Linked DNA regions of Homo sapiens: all the other regions are linked to region 3. The links are contacts of gene promoters, found by promoter capture Hi-C in blood cells and fetal thymus (Javierre and others, 2016). All regions are on one chromosome and are shown on one strand. Each heading gives the region's core, a stretch centred on a gene start or on the middle of the fragment in contact. The rest is flanking DNA. Distances are from core to core; before and after follow the strand shown. Region 1 overlaps CD6 (CD6 molecule). Region 2 overlaps TMEM109 (transmembrane protein 109). Region 3 holds the start of VPS37C (VPS37C subunit of ESCRT-I).

Region 1 (4,266 bases), core at 1,406-3,905, 180 kb before region 3:
TCTGAGGACCTCACTTCTGACTTGGAGTCATGTACTGAGCCCTGTGGCAGGGAGAAGGCAGAAATGAAGTCACTGTGTCCTCGGAGTCAGATGCAAAGCCAAGCGTGACTCTGTTCATTTTACAGAAGGACAGACTGAAGCCCAAGAGCTTAAGTAACGCCGCCAGTGGCTGACAGAGCTGGGAGCAGAGTCACTTCTGGTCACTGGGGTTTGGAGGGAGGATGTTTATCTGCACTTCAGTACCCTTTTTGCTAGGGTGTTCACCTCTTTCAGGAGGGGTGCCTGGGAGCAGGCGGGCGCGGGGAGACAGAGCTGAGGAAGCCCCCCAGGCCTGGAGGAGGCCCGTTCCCCACTCCATTTGGTGTGCTCTCGTTTTGCCTCCCTCCCTCCTTCAACCAAACTAAAGGATGCACAGTTGCCAAATGGATTCAGCTCCTTGGAGAAATATGTTGCTTTGCCGGGATGGGATTCTAGAAGTATGACAATGTCTGAGCTGGAAGAAACCCCAGCGAGCTGCCAGCCATCTCCTGTTTGTCAGAGGAGGAAAGCGAGGTGCGAAGTGGGGAACGACATGCCCCAGGGTCTTGGAGCAGGGCTGAGAAGCCCAGTCTGCAGGGACTCTTTCCAGGGCCTCTTCCCACGCTGCCCAGCAGGGCATGGCGGGGCCTGTGTGAACCAGGCACAGGCTTAACTAACTCCCCACCCCCACCCCTAGAGAGAATGCGGGGGACTGCTATGGCCCAGTGTGGCCTGACATGGTCTGACATGAACACAGGTGACCCTGGGCAGTGACATGCTGGCTTCATGTAGCTACTCTGCCCAGCCCCTCCAACGGCTCCTCCAGTCCTCAGGCTCTGCCTCCTCTTTGTTTTTTTACTTCACTTTTTTTTTTTTTTTGACGGAGTCTCACTCTTGTTGCCCAGGTTGGAGTGCAGTGTTGTGATCTCGGCTCACTGCAACCTCCACCTCCCAGGTTCAAGCGAGTCTCGTGCCTCAGCCTCCCGAGTAGCTGGGACTACAGTCCCGCACCACCACGCTAGTTTTTGTATTTTTAGTAGAGACGGGGTTTCACCATGTTGGTCAGGCTGGTCTTTAACTCCTGACCTCAAGCGATCCTCCTGCCTCAGCTTCCCAAAGTGCTGGGATTACAGACGCGAGCCACTGCACCTGGCCTGTTTTTTCACTTAACTTTTAATTTCAGGCTAATTTCAGACTTACTGAGAAGTTGCAAGAACAATACAAAGAATTTCCCCATGCTCTTCCCTCAGACTCTCCAACTGCTAACAATTTTCCACATTTGCTTTATTATTTCCTCTCAATGTGTCTGTTTTTCTATTGCTTTCCCCCTAAACTGTTTGAGAGAAGGTTGTAATGTCCCTTTCTCCTAAATACCCCAACGTGTGTTTTTGTTGTTGTTTTTTTTTTTTACATACGGACATTTTCTTACATAACCACAGTGTACTTATCAAAACCAGATAATTAATGCTGATACAATTCTATTGGATAATCGACAGAATTTATTCAGATTTTGCCAATGGTTCCAATAATATCTTCTAAGACAAAAGAAATTTTGTTCAGTATGCTGCGTTTAATTCTCGTCTCTCTATTCTCCTTGAATCTGGAATGATTTCTCAGATTTTCTTTCTCTTTCATGTCATTGATCTTTTTGAAGCATAGAGCAGTTATTCTGTAAAATGGCCCTCATCTGGGTTGTCTGATGGTTCTTCATGGTTCCATTTAAGTCATGCCTGTTTGGCAGGAATATCACAGAAGCACGTTTTGTCCTTCCCAGTGAATCATATCAGGAGGCACATGGGCTCTCCATGTCCCCTCTCCGGTGGTCTAACTTGCTTGGCTAAGGTGTTGTCTGCTAGATTTCTCTGCTGTAAAGATAATTTCCTCCTTTGTAATTAACATGTATCTTGTGGGTAGATTCTTTGAGAATATGTAAATATCTTACTCTTCCTCAAACCTTTGCCCACTAGTTGTAACATTATTGTTGATTCTTGCCGGAATCAGTTATTATAAGGATGGTTACCTGGTGGTGATATTATAATTCCACCATTCCTTCTTCATTAATAGTTGCTGACTCGGCTCTCTTTGCTGCCTCCGTGGGAGGGAGGCAGGTGGCTCAGTGCATGGCAGGCTGGTACTAATGAGGCCAAGGTTTGAGCTCCCTTTCCACTGTGCCTCTGGTGGCTGCTGTCTTGCCCCGCCTCGGATATTGGAGTCCGGGTCAGCACCTCTCCACCTTAGGGCTAGTTCTCCCTCCATCTTTACAGTTTTGCCATTCATTTGTTGAGCTACTAGTATGTGTTAGGCACTTTTTTTCAGCCACTGAGGATACGGGACAAAGTCCCGGTCTTCAAGAAGCTTCTATTCTAATAGGGAAAATAGACCAAAAACATAAACACATTTTTAAAATAGTATCATTTCAGAGAGGGATATGTGCACCAAGGGAAATCAGGCAAAGTAAGGGGACTGAGAGCGGTTGCACTGGAGACACAGGCAGAACCTCGGAGGGGATATAGACCTGAGTGATGAGATGAGCTGGGAATGCTGAGATCAGGGAGAGGACATTCCCGTCAGGGGGAGGAGCAGGGGCGGAGGCCCTGAGGCAGGAATGAGATTGATTTCAGACTGATGGAGGAGTGAAGGAGATGGAGTTGGAGAGGCTGGCAGGGCTTGAGGGCATAGATAATAGGGTTTGGAATTAATCCAAGGGAAATGGGAGCTCATCAGAGAGTTTTAGGTGTAGAAGGATGTGATTTCATTTGCCCTTCATGCATATACAATTACTTAAGAATTTTGTACATCAACTCCTTTTTTTCTTTTTTTAAACAAAGATATAGAACGCTTCACGAATTCACGTGTCATACCTGTACAGGGGTCATTCTAATCTTCTCTGTATTGTTCCAGTTTTCGTATATGTACCGCCGAAGCTTGCACCCACTCCTTTTTTTTTTTTTTTTTTTTTTTTTTGAGACTGAGTTTCGCTCTTGTCGCTCAGGCTGGAGTGCAATGGTGCCATCTTGGCTCACTGCAACCTCTGCCTCCCGGGTTCAAGTGATTCTCCTGCCTCAGCCTCCCAAGTAGCTGGGATTACAGGCATGCACCACCATTGCCTGGCTAATTTTTGTATTTTTAGTAGAGACGGGGTTTCGCCATGTTAGCCAGGCTGGTCTCAAACTCCTGGCCTCAGGTGATCTGCCCGTCTCAGCCTCCCAGAGTGCTGGGATTACAGGTATAAGCCACCGCACCCGGCCACCCTCTCCTTTTATAAACTTAAGTTTATTTGAACTTAGAAATCTGTCACTATCATGTATCTCAAACCAATACTACTTAAGTAAATAGAATATATATATATAAACAAAGAAAACACTGAAACCAAAAGTGTCATTAAATAGCCTGCCGTCCAAGCATGAGCTGTCTCTCCATTCATTAAGAAGTGTTAGGTGGCCAGGCACAGTGGCTGATGCCTGTCATGCCAGCACTTTGGGAGGCCAAGACAGGCAGGTTGCTTGAGCCCAGGAGTTCAAGAGCATCCTGGGCAACATTGCATGTCCCCATCTCTGCAAAAATAAAATTTAACAAAAAGTGTTAGGTGTTAAAGACTAAGTAGCAGCACAATGAGACTTTCTCCTTAATGCAGTCGGACAGAAAAATTGGAAAAGGAATAATTTGTTTACTGCATGATTCAGTTCCATTTAATCTTATATGTTAAACTGTCTTTCTGACTCAGACCTGATTTGAGAAGCATTTTGCTAACTGGTGGAAGGATTTGACAGGCCCAGCCCACCCATTTAACCATGGAGAAACTGAGGCCTTGGAACGGGGCAAGGACTTACCCAAGGTCCTGGTAATAGCTGCTCTCCATTCTACTCACCCTCGGTATCACTCCCACCCAATGCTAGCTGAAAATTCAGATGTGATGTAAACATTAGTCATCCTTATTGTAAAAACGTTATAACAACCACATTAGAAGGAATGCAAAGAGAGAAAAGAAGTCTCAGCCAGCACCTTCACACAACCCGGCTGTTTGTTCTTGAAGGAGGAAGTTTTTGAGTCTGTGGAGCGTCATGGGCCTTCAGTCTCACCAGCAGGAAGGTGGGTGGCTGATGGGTGCCGGGCTGGTGTTGATCCACACTTGTCAGGTGGCTCTGAGACCAGCCTTGACTCCAGGCTCCACCACTTCCGCCATGACCTTGGGCAAGTTCCCAAAGCTCTCTGAGGTAAAATGGGTGTGGCCATGTCACTCTTCAGCTT
Region 2 (3,967 bases), core at 998-3,497, 240 kb before region 3:
GTTGTTCATTATACCCTTGCTCACTGTCCTCGTCCATTTTCTGCTTCCTATAACAGAATGCCACTGCCTGCGTAGTTTATAATGAACAGAAATTCATTAGGGTCACAGTTCCAGAGGCTGGGAAGTCTAAGGGCATGGCGCTGGCATCTGGCAAGGGTCATCCTATGGCAGAAGGCAGAACCCAGCACATGAGACAGAGACAGGAAATCAGGCCAAAGTCATCCTTTTTATCAGGAGCTGCATTCCTGGGATAACTAATCCACTCCCAAGATAACGGCATTAATCCATTCATGAGGGCTGAACCCTCATAACCTAATCACCTCTTAAAGGTCCCACCTTTTAATACCATCATCATGGCAATTAAATTTCTTTCTTTTTTTTTTTTTTTTGGTGGAGAAGGGGTCAAACTATTTTACTGAGGGGAATGGGGTGTCAAAGAAGTACTTAGGACCATGAGATCCAACATCCTTGGCTGGACTGGGAGCTCCCAGGCTCTGCAGGAGGTGCAAGAACAGTTAAATTTCAACATGAGTTTTGCTCTTCAAACCATAGCACCTCCATTGGGGGTGGGGAGGTGAGGTCACTCTGTATCAGTGGTTCTCAACTTCATGCAGTGGAACTGCCTAGGGAGCTTTTGCAGATCCAAGGCTAGGCCACACCCAGACAATGATATCAGAACCTCTGGGCTGGGGACACAGACATCAGTACTTGGGAAGCTTCCAGGTGATTCCAGTGAGCAGCCATGGTTGAGACCCACAGTATAACTTGACTCCTAATGAAGATGGGTGGAAGCAGAAGCTTGGGTTCAAATCCTGGCCTTTCTGTGTAGCCCAGTGACCATGGGAAAATGCTTAACTTCTGAGTCACAGTTTCTTCTCGTCTGTACCAGTAGGGGCGAGGAGGATAAAAGCCACCTCACATGATGGTCCTGCAGAGAAGATGACATATGTGCAGTTATTCTTGTTTGAGCACATAACTGAGCACTTTTCTTTATACCATTATATGGCAGTAATCCTACTTGTGTGCTATTTTTAAGTTGTTTTTTATACCAGCTGTATCTTAAGTAGATTATAAGCTCCTTGGGACAGAGCCTTTATAGAGTCTTATAATACTTTTATGCCTATAGCACCTAAGATACAGGGACAGGCCTTCAGATTTTTAGAACTGGCACAAACCTTAGAGAGATCTTCTCGCCAACTCTAAAGTGTTGAATAATACTTGCTGGTTAATTAATATGCAAGTGGTAAAGAATGTGAAAGAGGAACCTGTGAGTCAGATGGTTGTGCCCAGCTTCAGTTGGAAGTCCCAGTCCTTCCTCTCCCAGCTAACAGCACTTTCTTTCCAGGGTTAGTTTGGTGCTTGCTTGGGGTAGGGGTGGAGAAGGATGTTGGGATAATCAGAGCTGAGAGGGTGAGTGTGTCTACCATGGCACTCAGCTCACTGTGCTTCTCTCCTGGCAGACCCAGTCATGGCAGCCTCCAGCATCAGTTCACCATGGGGAAAGCATGTGTTCAAAGCCATTCTGATGGTCCTAGTGGCCCTTATCCTCCTCCACTCAGCATTGGCCCAGTCCCGTCGAGACTTTGCACCACCAGGCCAACAGAAGAGAGAAGCCCCAGTTGATGTCTTGACCCAGATAGGTCGATCTGTGCGAGGGACACTGGATGCCTGGATTGGGCCAGAGACCATGCACCTGGTGTCAGAGGTAAGGAAGGTAGTCCCTGTGTGACTACACACATTAAGGAAAAATAAAAGAAGAAAGGTTGGTAATGGCCACCTCATCTTAGTTCCACATCCTCTCTGGTGCAGAGAGCCCCAAATTCCACAAAAAGAAGCCACACAGCACTTGTCTTTGAATTCCTCGTTATTTGATTGCTGTCCTAGGGCCTTTTAGCTCCACCCCTATCCTTTCCTGGCTCCTGCCCTTTCCTTGCCAGAAAGGCTGGGAAATGAGCCATCTTTATAAGCCCATGTTACTGGGTGACTGTAGAGTCTCACTTTGGTCTAAATCTGACCTAGAATCTCGAAATGGCAAAATATCAAGTCCTGAATCCATTCCTTCACCTGCAGAAGTGGGTTGAGCTTATTGGGAGCCTAAGGCAGGGTTATCTTTTTTTACCTGGTGGCATCCCAAGCATGGTATCACATACTTTTGATAGGCTGGACTGAAGGGCTGAGACAATCATTTATTAAATCCATAATATAGTATAGCTGATAGACTCCTTTTTCACTGGAACATCCTATCCCTTTACAGATGTTCTCCACGCACCTTCATGACTCCCTGGACAGCTAGCAGGCCTCCAGTTTTATAGGGTGACTACTAAAAGTATTTGATTGTCTCCGTCATTCACACACAAGTACACCTACTACTCCCTCCAAAGTATCCCAGCAAAGCAGTTAAATTATGTCCCAGATGCCCTAGTTTCCAGTTCAGGAAGGAGAGACAGCCTGTTGGCCATCCCTGTAGACTAGAAGGTGGATGTGGAAGGGACCCCTCAGCCAGGCCCAAGGCCCCTACCCTCTGACCCAGGCCTGTCACCACTGGGTGAGAAACAGGTCTGAGACATTCCTGCAGTTCTTGCCTGGACAGTGGTGATCAGGCGTGAAGGCGAGGACCGTTGTTCATTATGAACTCATCTCGCTCCGTGCTCTTTCCACAGTCTTCGTCCCAAGTGTTGTGGGCCATCTCATCAGCCATTTCTGTGGCCTTCTTTGCTCTGTCTGGGATCGCCGCACAGCTGCTGAATGCCTTGGGACTAGCTGGTGAGTGTTCGAGTGCTGGGTAGTCAGCCAGAGCTTTGCCTGTACTTTCCTACTTGTGGGAGTTCATCTTTGTCAGGGTCTAGCCTTTTCCCCAAGCTGCTTAACCCTTCCCAGGATTCTGCAGAGACATGGCCAAAGAGCAAGCCAAGAACTACCATGGCCAGGTGTGGTGGCTCCCGCCTGTAATCCCAGCACTTTGGGAGGTCAAGGCAGGAGGGTCACTTGAGGCCAGAAGTTTGAGACCAGCCTGGGCAATATAATGAGACCTCGTCTCTATAAAAAATTAGCCAAGCATGGTGGCGTGTGTCTGTTGTCCCAGCTACTTGGGAGCTGAGGTGGGAGGATCGCTTGAGCCCAGGAGGTAGAGGTTGCAGTGAGCCGGGATCACGTCACTGCACTCCAGCCTCGGCGATGGAGCAAAACCCTGTCCCACCCAGACCCCCTAAAAAAGAACTTCCGCCACCACGTGCCAGTTGTTCACTTCCTATCAGGCATCGTGCTGAGCTGTAGTATCTCATTTAATTGCCAGCCACAGTACAGGGAGGCAGTAGAATTGTTCCCGTTTAGTAAATGAAACTGCAGCTCAACAGAAGCAAGTAATCTACTCCAGGCCTCACAGCCAGCAAGAAACAGAGCTGAGATTCCAACCCATATCACTCTGAGTCTGCGAGAACGGCTTATTCCTTTGCAATGTGCCTAGCACCTCCCACCCTTTTAGCTCTTGCCCCGCTCTCCCCTCACCACTTCTCCAGGTTGGCTGACTCTGTGACTCTCTTGGCTTCCAGGTGATTACCTCGCCCAGGGCCTGAAGCTCAGCCCTGGCCAGGTCCAGACCTTCCTGCTGTGGGGAGCAGGGGCCCTGGTCGTCTACTGGCTGCTGTCTCTGCTCCTCGGCTTGGTCTTGGCCTTGCTGGGGCGGATCCTGTGGGGCCTGAAGCTTGTCATCTTCCTGGCCGGCTTCGTGGCCCTGATGAGGTCGGTGCCTGACCCTTCCACCCGGGCCCTGCTACTCCTGGCCTTGCTGATCCTCTACGCCCTGCTGAGCCGGCTCACTGGCTCCCGAGCCTCTGGGGCCCAACTCGAGGCCAAGGTGCGAGGGCTGGAACGCCAGGTGGAGGAGCTGCGCTGGCGCCAGAGGCGAGCGGCCAAGGGGGCCCGCAGTGTGGAGGAGGAGTGAGCCGGATGCCCCACACACCGCCAGTGT
Region 3 (4,101 bases), core at 5-2,504:
TGGAAATTACAAAGGCACGGAACCACATTTCCAAGATAATCTAGGTAAAAGGCTTTTCTGGGCACTATGACCGCAAAGAACAAAGACTCAGTTTAGCGTCCAGTATTTTCATTGCAACAGTCCCCGATCCCACCCGGAACTACAGAGTTCAGGTGTCTGCAGGGTTGCAGCTTTGGACAACAAAGTAAGAGTCTTTCTTTCCCCAGTTCCTCGGTCACCACCACCTCCAGCTCTAAGGCCAAAAGTCACAGAACTGAGAGTCTGGTGGCAGCATCTTGGTGCATTAGTAGGAAATGGGACTCCTGGAGCCAATAAAGAGGGTGGAAAAGGCCTTAGGCAGCAAGAGAACTGAGGTACCGCTGGAGCGAAGGGAAATGAGTGGGAAGTTTCTGGAGCTGAAGACTGACATTCCCAGGGTAAGTGAGCCCAGACAAGGTGTAGCTGGGAAAGCACTGCCTCAGCTCAGCGACTAAAACCCCAGGTTGTAGAGTCCACTCTGCCAGTAACTCACAAAACACCTCCAGTTAACTCCTTCTCCCATCCGTAAAGTGGGAAATCGCCTCATCGGCTGAGGAGGAAATGAAGAGGAACCAGGCATATAATGGGTATGTATACATCAGTGCCCTTTGCGCCCAGAGGGTCCCGGGGTAAGAAATGTTCAGTGATGCTGGGAGGTCCAAGTCTGAGTCCTGAACAAAGCCAAAGCTGAAACTCCCATCTCTCAATGCCCTGGAGAAAGGGCACAAGCCAGTAAGTCACAGAGCAAAGTCCCTCCAACCTCCCCTCTGCCACTCGTCTCCCGCGTGCCCTCTGGCAAGTCGGACCCTACTCTTAGGCCTCAGCTTCCCCATCTATACAATGGGCTAATTGGCTCTAATGTCATCAGAATTGTGACCGCAAGATGCTCACATATGGGACGAGGGCCTGCAGAGACGCAGAAAGGAGGGTGGCGGTGAGTGGTGGGGCGGAACTGGAGGTGCGACCCGCCGGGGAGCCGGGGCGGCGCCTCGCGCTCTCCCTCCCTCCCTCCCACCGCGAGGGGCAGGGGCGCCGGCCCCCGGCGAGAGTCACGCGCCCCTCGTGCCCAATCACCGGCCTCTGCCAGGATGAGGCGGGCAGGCGGGGGCGCTCCGGGAGCCACGGCCGGCGCCGCCCCCACCGTCGTCCTCTGCCCCGCCCGCCTGCGGCAGAGCCGGGACCCTCCCCAGTCTCCGCTCACCTGCCAGGGCCGCCGTCGCCGCCGCCACCGCGGGTTAAACCGCAGCCGCGCCCACACTTCCGGGGTCCGCCAGGCCCGCCCCCTACCGGATGTGACCCCCTTGCAACGTCCGGCGCCCCAGTGGCGCGCGTGCTCGCCCCGCGACCCCGTTGGCCGCCCCGCCTCGCGCGCCTCTGAGTTACCACGACATCGTGCCACACACACACGCTCGCGGCCGCCCGGGCCACAACCACGGGAGCGCCCACGAGACCCCTCCAGCGCTCGCCGCACGCCTCGGCCCCGCCCCCGGTAAGAGGCCCCGCCCACTGGGCGGAGACCAGGCCGCTCTGGGCTAGTGCGCCGGCGCGGACGTCCGCCGCCTTCCGAGTGGCCAGCGAGGACTCGCTCTGTACACAGCTCGATCTTGGGAGGCTTCTCAGAGGGACCCAAAAGGAGGGGGAAGCAGATGGAAGCCCAGAACCTAGGAGGAGCCCCAGATGGGCTGAGCTCAGACTGAGGAGCCCCAAGGCCACCACACACTCATTTCCATTTACTAGTTAATCTCTTTCCCCCACCCATTCATTCTACAGAATTACCAGTATTCCCCATCTCCTCCCTTCCCCCCTGGAAACAGGAGAGTCCAGCATAATAAGGAAGCCCCCTCTGCTCTAACCCTTAAAAAAAGGAATCTGAAGTGACCTGATGTTAACTAATCAGGTGTTTTTTTTTTTTTTTCTATTCTGTTCCCTTTCCCACCTATGAAACCCACTGCTCTGCTATTTCCCAGGGGAATTTGAGACCAAATAAGTCTATTTACAATGGTAACTGATGTCAATGTCTAAAGTTTCCAACCTCTCAAAATCAAGAGGTTGACCAAAAGGGGAGAAGTGTCCAGTTTAGCCTAAAGTTGTCTCCTGGCGTATCTTAAGTTTGTCCTAAAGGTTTCTCCGTACATAGTGAACTGGATCCTACTCATACCAATCACAGAGTTTCAGCCAATCACAGGCAGCCACCTGTTCAAACCTTGTTCCAATAAGGCAAATGTCAATCTGTCATTGGTAGGGAACCAAACTGGATCCCTTTGCCCTCAGAAAGCCAAACACCGAAGTATCAGGTTTTTGTAGAGGGAAAGATTTGTTGCAAGTCAACTGGGAAGGAGACATGCTCAAATCTGTCTCCCCAAGCCAGGGGCTGTGACAGGTGTTATAGGCAGAGGGTAATGAGCAGTGATCTGATTGAATCTTGCAATAAGCAATGATCTGACTGGATCTTGCCATGGGATGATGCCATGGCTCAATCTGATTAGATCATGGCTTATACCATGTATCTACTTCTTAATTCTGTTCCGGTTCTTTGGTCTGAGCATTTAGGTTGCGCCTGTGGTTGCATGCTTGGTTCTTCTGGGCACGCTCAGGTTACATAACTTGCAACCTGGGATCATGGCAACTGAAAAAACAACTCACCACTTTATTACACAAAGTTGAACCAGATGGGGCTGGTTCTGCGCTTACATAACTGGTCCAACTGTTTCTGTACCTCGCTTCTGTTTTCTGGACATCTATTTCCTTTTTCTTTTCTTATTTTTAAATTTTAATGATTATTTTTTAATAGAAATGGAGATTCGCTATGTTGCCCAGGCTGGTCTGGAACTCCTGGACTCAAGCAATCCTCCAGCCTCGGCTTCCCAAAGTGTTGGAATTACAGGCATGAGCCACCACGCCCAACCTGCTTTCCGTTTTCTATCCCTAAATGTTATCCAACCACCTGGCAGCCTCAGAGTCACTCTGAACCTATTCTGGTTCTGGGGGCTGACTGATTCACAAATCATTATTTGCTCAATTAAACTCTGTCAAACTGAATTTGTCAAAACTCCTTCTTATAACAGAAGGGGTCCATGAAGAAGGTCAGCTGCTGACCCTTCTGAGACACTGGTGACTCCTTTGAGCGGGGGCATGTTGGTTTTGCAAACATTTCACTTGGTACAGAATGTCAGAGTGACTCCCATTGACAGCACCTGTTTGAAAGCTAGGTTGAAATTGTTTCTGAGGGTTAGGGAGGGCCAGGGCAGATGACCTTAATTTTTTGTCATAAGCCTTTTTGTGCTATGTGATTTTTTTTTTTTTTTGAGACGGAGTTTCTCTCTTGTTGCCCAGGCTGGAGTGCAATGGTGTGATCTCTGCTCACTGCAACCTCCGCCTCCTGGGTTCAGGTGATTGTCCTGCCTGAGCGTCCCAAGTAGCTGGGATTACAGGCGCCTACCACCACACCCGGCTAGTCTTTGTATTTTTAGTAGAGACAGGGTTTCACCATGTTGCCAGGCTGATCTCGAACTCCTGACCTCAGGTGATCCACCCACCTCGGCCTCCCAAAGTGCTGAGATTACAGGCGTGAGCCACCACGCCCAGCTGCTATGTGATTTTTAACTCTGCATGTGTTTCATTTCTGAAGGAAAATAATTAGGAAACACTATTGATGGATTAGCTTGAGTTTATATCCAGCAATCTCTTCACTGATTAGTACCATGTTGGAAGGTGGGACATGGACATGATGGCTGGAGCAAGTGTAGTCATCTTGAACCATGAGGCGACCATAGGAATAGAGGCCACACTAGTGGCACAACAAAATAGAAGGAACCTGAGCCCTGATTCCGTAAAGGACCATGACACCACTGGACGGCTGCCTCTGGGCTCTGTGTGAGAGGGAAATAAACCACCTCGTGTCACTGTTGTTTTGGATTTTCTGTCACTTGTGCCCTTTAAGTCTTAGACTCTACTTCTGGAAAGCCCCTATATCCTAAGACTGGGTAACTTCCCCCCTTGTATGTTATTCAAACACCCCACCCTTCAGCCCTTTCTTAGCATTCTCTACACTTTTCTGTAGTTGACCTTTCACTCCCCCTAGAT

Evidence for each region. Contacts are between HindIII fragments. The CHiCAGO score rates a contact against its expected background, and 5 or more counts as called.
Region 1: a contact is called between a fragment that was not itself captured here and the fragment with the promoter of VPS37C in region 3, in 7 of 17 cell types (naive CD8 T cells, endothelial precursors, non-activated CD4 T cells and 4 more). The highest score is 6.9, in naive CD8 T cells.
Region 2: a fragment that was not itself captured here is called in contact with the fragment with the promoter of VPS37C in region 3 in 11 of 17 cell types (non-activated CD4 T cells, naive CD8 T cells, activated CD4 T cells and 8 more); the score reaches 16.5 in non-activated CD4 T cells.

Annotation. Positions count from the first base shown.
Region 1 is chr11:60,982,219-60,986,484 of GRCh38, forward strand. The region is part of intron 1 of CD6 (CD6 molecule); the gene reads left to right. It also overlaps the pseudogene RNU6-933P. Among named protein-coding and RNA genes, the nearest start is that of CD6, 13 kb to the left of the region's middle. The HindIII fragment of the contact is 569 bases long and covers 2,372-2,940 here.
Region 2 is chr11:60,918,226-60,922,192 of GRCh38, forward strand. It overlaps TMEM109 (transmembrane protein 109), which reads left to right. Exons shown (of 4, transcript NM_024092.3): 2 at 1,461-1,705; 3 at 2,661-2,763; 4 at 3,549-3,967. The coding sequence starts at 1,469. The coding sequence ends at 3,940. LOC124902676 (a long non-coding RNA gene) reads right to left here. Exons shown (of 2, transcript XR_007062688.1): 2 at 1-928. Among named protein-coding and RNA genes, the nearest start is that of TMEM132A, 4.3 kb to the right of the region's middle. RefSeq lists an enhancer at 612-1,811. The HindIII fragment of the contact is 2,902 bases long and covers 797-3,698 here.
Region 3 is chr11:61,160,172-61,164,272 of GRCh38, forward strand. VPS37C (VPS37C subunit of ESCRT-I) reads right to left here and starts at 1,255. Exons shown (of 5, transcript NM_017966.5): 1 at 1,220-1,255. RefSeq lists enhancers at 718-1,311, 1,312-1,904, 1,645-1,694, 1,705-1,844 and a silencer at 895-1,654. The HindIII fragment of the contact is 11,808 bases long and covers 1-4,101 here.